Regions from separate parts of the Homo sapiens genome. Here region 1 is linked to region 2. Evidence: promoter capture Hi-C in human tissues and cell types (Jung and others, 2019). All regions are on one chromosome and are shown on one strand. Each heading gives the region's core, a stretch centred on a gene start or on the middle of the fragment in contact. The rest is flanking DNA. Distances are from core to core; before and after follow the strand shown. Region 1 has its middle 220 kb from the start of CBLN1. Region 2 holds the start of CBLN1 (cerebellin 1 precursor).

Region 1 (2,961 bases), core at 86-2,585, 220 kb after region 2:
CTGCCTCTGTGAGCCTGGAGTCTATTCTCCCTGTGCTCAAAAGTTCCCTGTACTAAGAGCTCCCTGCACCCCCAGGAATGTAGAAACAAAAAGGGAAAGGGAACAGGGAGCCCCTGCATTCTTGACCTGCCCCACACCCCAGAAAAAATCTTGGCACTTCCCTCAGCCTGGCACTGAAAGAGTTAACCTGAAACAGCTTCCATGATGAATGGCTATAATACTGTCTACGTAATGGATTTCCTATTTAAATTTTGTGAGGATTTAATCAGTTGGGCGCAGCTGTGCAAGATGCACCATAAACTATGTTGAAAAATATGTAGACATATACATTTATCTGCTACAAATTAAGCTCACTTAGAGGTGGTCTTAATGGCCCATGTAGCCATCATTACAAGCATAAATTCTAAACTGTCTGTTTCCAGTGAATTTGCTTTGAGAAAAAAATTAATGCTCATCCTTAGCAGAGCATAGTAATAAATGAAAGGACCCTTAATTTGCAAAGCTCTAATAGCCTGGCCATTTTCCATTAGGAACCCCATGCTGGGTCATACATGGCAGGGTCTCTTCATGGGGGATTCCAGTGCCCAGGCTGGGGAGGGACAGGGGCAGACTTTCTGGAAGTCTACCCTGTGTGGTTTACCCAGTCTTTTCAGAGGAAGGCTAAAATCCTGATTCTAAAGCTAGGAGGTGAGCCTGCAAAAGAATATTAACAATAAAAAAAATATGAGTGCATGTTTCTTTTTGGTACAACGATTTATTTTCTTTTGGATATGTTCATCACGGCACTATTCACAATAGCAAAGACACGGAATCAACCCAGGTGCCCATCAATGGGTGGATTGGATAAAGAAAATATGATACATATGTGCCATGAAATACTATGCAGCCATAAAAACTGAAATCATGTCCTTTGCAGTAACATGGATAGAACCAAAGGCTGTTATCCTAAGCAAATCAATGCAGTGACAGAAAACCAAATACCATATTTTTCACTTATAAGTGGGAGCTAAACACTGAGTACGTATGAAAATAATTAAGGAAACAATAGATACTGTGGACCACTAGAGGGTGGAGGAAGGGGTAGTGAGTAAAAAAAACTACCTATTGGATCCTATGCTCACTACCAGGGTGATGGGATCTGTATTCCAAACCTCAGCGTCACACAATATTCCCACGTAACAAATCTGCACATGTACCTCCTGCATCTAAAACACAAATTGAAATTAAAAAAACAAAAATCCTTCAGTCTTGGCTGCATCCAGTGTGAGTGTGAGTGTGTGTCCAGAGACATACATTCAGATTTGCCCTGGCCATGATGGCAAAATGCACTCAGCACATGGTTAGCCCAACTGCGAGTGTGGATCTGGTGCTAATAGAACTCACAGCATGTGAAAGCTCTCCCACTTTCTCCACTTTCTCTCTAGCACTGGAAAAATGGCACAAAGGAGCTGGGTTTGAATCCCAGCCTGCTACCTTGGCACAGCCTGATCTGGCAGCTTGCTTCTCCAAATAGTCACAAAGAGCTGCCAGTTTGCAAGACATTCTCTCATTTCTCTCTTCACATCTCAGTTGATCCTTACTTCATGACAACCTTAGGAGGTAGGTGCAATTATTTCTCCTATTTTAATAGGGCTGGGGCTAGAGCAAAGCAAAAGAAGCACCCAGGCTACAAGATTTAAGGAAGCACTCACTTTCAAGGTCCTATCAGTGTCAACTCTTCATTTGCATGACCCTGACATGACAGCCTCCTTAAACTTTGCTCCTTAAGTGCCTCTTGCCACACTCTAGTTCCAGCTCTGGATAGGGACCCCAAGGCACAGAGAAGTTAAGTAACTTGTTCAAGGACACACAGGCACTGAGAGAGCTAGAGTACAATTCATGGCCATTTAACTCTGAATTCCAATGTCTTTTCTATATGCCAAATGATGGCCATTTGAATTGAAAAGTTTGATTTATTCAGCCCAAGTTGGGCATTTACTGTGGGCCAAACTATACAGCCAAAGCTTTCACATAAGAAATATCTCATCTCATTTTCTTCGTGGCATCCTTTACTTTCAGAAATAATCTTATCAATTCATTTAAAAAAAAGTTTGTGGCCTGTGTGCCCCACTAGAATATTCACTTTATCCTAGTGGCTAGAGCAGTGCTTGGCACATCGTAGGTGCTCAGTAAATATTTGTCAAATAAATTATCTTATTCAACAAATGTTTAAATGAGAAGTTGTATGAAACTAGTCTGATGGTTCTCATGCCTGGTTCCAGGTACCCCAAAGATGGGATCGAACCACTTAGGAAGTGCCATTTACTTCCTCTCTGCTAAGTGTCAGGTGTTCCCATAACTCAACCATCCTGGGAAAAGGAATTGGTGATGGAAAATCCAATCATAAAAAAATTAAAATCTAGGATGGTTTTGTCTGGTGCTTTTTCAGAAATGAAAAATGCAGAAACACTTTCACCAAAGTGTCTGATGGCAAGAATTGGGGCTGCATTAGAAAGTGGTAGAAGGGGCTGGGCACAGTGGCTCATGCTTGTAATCCCAGGACTTTGGGAGGCTGAGGTAGGATTGCTTGAGGCCAGGAGTTTGAAACCTGCCAGGGTAATAGAGAAAGACTTCTTCTCTACCAAAAAAAAAAAAAAAAAAAAAAAAAAATAGCCAGGTGTGATGGCGCCACCTGTAGTTCCAGCTACTTGGGTTGGGAGGCTGAGGTGGGAGGATCGCTTGAGCCCAAGAGTTCAAATCTGCAGTAAGCCATGATCACACCACTGCATCCCAGCCTGGGCTACAGAGAGAGACCTTGTGTCTTAAAAAAAAAAATAGGCATGGGGAGCAGTTAGAAGAATGAAAATCACAATCTTAAACAAATGATTCTATCAAAACCTGACCAGTTGCAAAGACACCAGCAATTACAGGACTCTTAGAAGGCTCAAGAGAAGCATGTAATAGCTTCTTTTCAAAACTTAA
Region 2 (2,866 bases), core at 75-2,574:
GCCGCCCTACTACCAGCCTGGGTTCATCCTTCAGGGCTACGTCTACCGCACCCGGGCTGGAAAGCCTGGAGCGCGCCCTTCCTCTCCTCATCTTCTCAGCTCTCCTTTCTCCCTGCCACTTGGCAAAGCTGCATTTTGACTTTCACGTTTTGGACTACGTGTGTGTAGTTCCAAGTCCATGCGTGGCACGAAAATCCACTTAGGGTAAAAATTATTCTCGAAAAATCGCCCATCTCAGGATCTGGTGTCTACACTCAAGGCTAGGAGGTGCAGGTACGGGTGCGTAAAGCATGCCGTAAGGGTGCACAGTAAATAAAAAGTACGGATGCAAAATGTAAATTTTAAGTGCAAAACAGAAAAGCAGTACTCGTTGCCGCCCCGCACGCTGGGTTTTAAGGGGCACGAAGGTGGGCCTCGGCTGCTTTTGCTCAGCCCCGCGTCCTCAGCGCCCGGCCCAGTACCCGGTACTCCGTAGGGGTTCAATGATCTCCCCTGAATAAGTGAACGAATTAACAAATGAATGAATGACCGCTCGATCCGACCTCCGCGGCCGGCAGAGCAGTCGCTGGAGAGGCGGGAGAGAGCGAGAGGCCAAGCTCCACCATCGCGGCCGCCGGCTGGGGCAGAGGGACACGGAGACACTCGGCGCCCCGGCTCCGCACCGAGTCCCCGCGGTGAGTGCCCGCCCAGCAGCTCCCGGGCACCACGTGCGCCCGCCAGAGCCGCGCAGGCCCCGCCCCGCCGCGCGCGCACGCGCCCTGCACCCCGGCCGCCGGGACCCTGAGCCAGGCTCGCCCAGCGCGCCGGCTGCCCTCGCGCCCGCGCCCGCTGGGGGGCGCTCCCCTCCCAACGGGCGCGCCCACAGGCGGGCAGGCGACTCGCAGCCTCCAGCGATTCCACTCCCGACCCCGGGGCGCGCCGCCTCCTACCTGAGGGCCGACGAGTGGGGGCGGGCAGGAGGGCCGAGGGAGGCGGAACAGGATCGAGGCGCGAGGCGGGAGTCGAGAAAGCGAGCGGCCGAGGCGACTCTCAGTGCGCGGACGCGGGCGCGCGCCCGCGCTCCCTTCGTCGACTCACGGCGAGAGCCCAACCCTGCTGCCGCGCGCCACCCGCCTCGCCGCGCCTAATAACAACGGCGCCCGGGGTCAGGTGGCCGAGCGCGGACAGCGCCGCCATTGGCTCGGTGGGGAGCGCGGCGCGTCAGGATTGGCTGGGGGGCGTGGCCTCGGCCGGGGCGGGGGCAGGGCCTCGGAGGGAGGCGGGCCGGGAGGCGGCGGGGGCGGGGCCAGGCCGAGGTCCGCGCCTTTGTGCCCGGCGCGCGCTCTCCGCCCGCTCCGGCTGCAGCGCCGGCTGCATCAATAATTCAGAGCGGCGGCGGCGGCGGCAGCGGCGGGTGCGGGCAGGAGGCGGCGGCAGCAGCGGGACCGAGCAGCAGCGGCTATGCATCCAAGTGCGGCTGGGCAGCCGCGGCACCCCTGAGGCCCGGGAGGGGCTCCGGGAACACAGCGCGGAGGGGACGCTAGTCGCGGAGGGGACGCTAGTCCCGGAGTGCGAGGAAGAGGTGTAGTGTCCAGAGCGGCGGCGGCGGAGCTGCGCACGGAGCTGAGGAGGGGGCTTCGGAGCGGGACTGGGACGGGGGGGGCGGCTGGCGCGAGCAGCCCTGGGGGTGGGGGGCGGGGTGGGCGCCGGCGGCGCGATGCTGGGCGTCCTGGAGCTGCTGCTGCTGGGGGCTGCGTGGCTGGCGGGCCCGGCCCGCGGGCAGAATGAGACGGAGCCCATCGTGCTGGAGGGCAAGTGCCTGGTGGTGTGCGACTCCAACCCCACGTCCGACCCCACGGGCACTGCCCTGGGCATCTCTGTGCGCTCTGGCAGCGCCAAGGTGGCTTTCTCTGCCATCAGGAGCACCAACCACGAGCCGTCCGAGATGAGTAATCGCACCATGATCATCTACTTCGACCAGGTGAGTGTTCCTTCCTCCCGCGGCGTGCAGATTGGGCTGGTGAAGGAGGGATGGATGGAAGACCGATGCCCGGTCCTCTCCAAGGGCTCTGCGGAGGCGCGGGGACGACAGTCCGGGACCGATTCCTGCCCACTCCCCTTCGTTCCCGTCTCGTTATAGGTACTAGTGAACATTGGGAACAACTTTGATTCAGAACGCAGCACTTTCATCGCCCCGCGCAAAGGGATCTACAGTTTTAACTTCCACGTGGTAAAAGTCTACAACAGACAAACCATACAGGTCAGCCGACGCCTCGTGCCGGGCCCTGGCCCCGTAGGGGGGTTACTGGCCTCAGGGGTGCTCGGGCTGTCCGGAGGTGGTAGGCAGAAGTGGCGGCTGCATGTACTTCGGGCTGCTTGGAGGGACAGATAGCGGGGCCTCTCAGTTCTGTGGCTTCAACTGTCCTCTGCTTTCCCTGTCTCTGGCTCTTGGGATCCAGCCCCATCCCCCGAGAGACAGAATTTTCTGCTTCTGCCTTCCGGGCCTCTCCGAAGGGTTCCCTGGATTTCAGGGACTTCCTTGTAACGGCTGTTGTTAGCGCCCCAGACAGCTGCCGCTTGGGAAGCCTTCCCGGACTCCCCAGGAAGCACCGCGACAGTACACCCTACCCCTTGCCCCGGCTCAGAAGCCTGCGATGCGGCTTGCGTGCTTGTCTTCAGCACCACGGACGGGGCCCCCGTTTTCTCCCACTTGTCCCCAATCCCCACCCCGTGCGGACTGTGGGTTTTTGAGCTAGCAGCATTTAGCCCCGGAGGGTGAGGGGTAGAGAGAGGAGGGAGGGAGGGGGCGTAGTGCTACTCTCTCCCGGCTCCAGCCGTGTCCCAGCAATCACTCGCCGGCTCTCCGGGTCCCCAAAGATGTCCAGGT

Evidence for each region. The method cuts DNA at HindIII sites, captures the fragments that hold promoters and counts their contacts. A contact is called where the count stands out against the background at its distance.
Region 1: a fragment that was not itself captured here is called in contact with the fragment with the promoter of CBLN1 in region 2 in 2 of the 25 tissues and cell types used here (H1 embryonic stem cells and dorsolateral prefrontal cortex).

The regions. Positions count from the first base shown.
Region 1 is chr16:49,058,303-49,061,263 of GRCh38, reverse strand. No RefSeq gene overlaps it. Among named protein-coding and RNA genes, the nearest start is that of CBLN1, 220 kb to the left of the region's middle. RefSeq lists an enhancer at 1-709. The HindIII fragment of the contact is 7,245 bases long and covers 1-2,961 here.
Region 2 is chr16:49,280,296-49,283,161 of GRCh38, reverse strand. It overlaps CBLN1 (cerebellin 1 precursor), which reads left to right and starts at 1,324. Exons shown (of 3, transcript NM_004352.4): 1 at 1,324-1,960; 2 at 2,120-2,239. The coding sequence starts at 1,697. SYNAGE (synapse stability regulating cerebellar lncRNA) reads right to left here and starts at 1,100. Exons shown (of 4, transcript XR_933530.4): 1 at 930-1,100. RefSeq lists silencers at 671-770, 1,141-1,250 and an enhancer at 1,603-2,220. The HindIII fragment of the contact is 18,550 bases long and covers 1-2,866 here.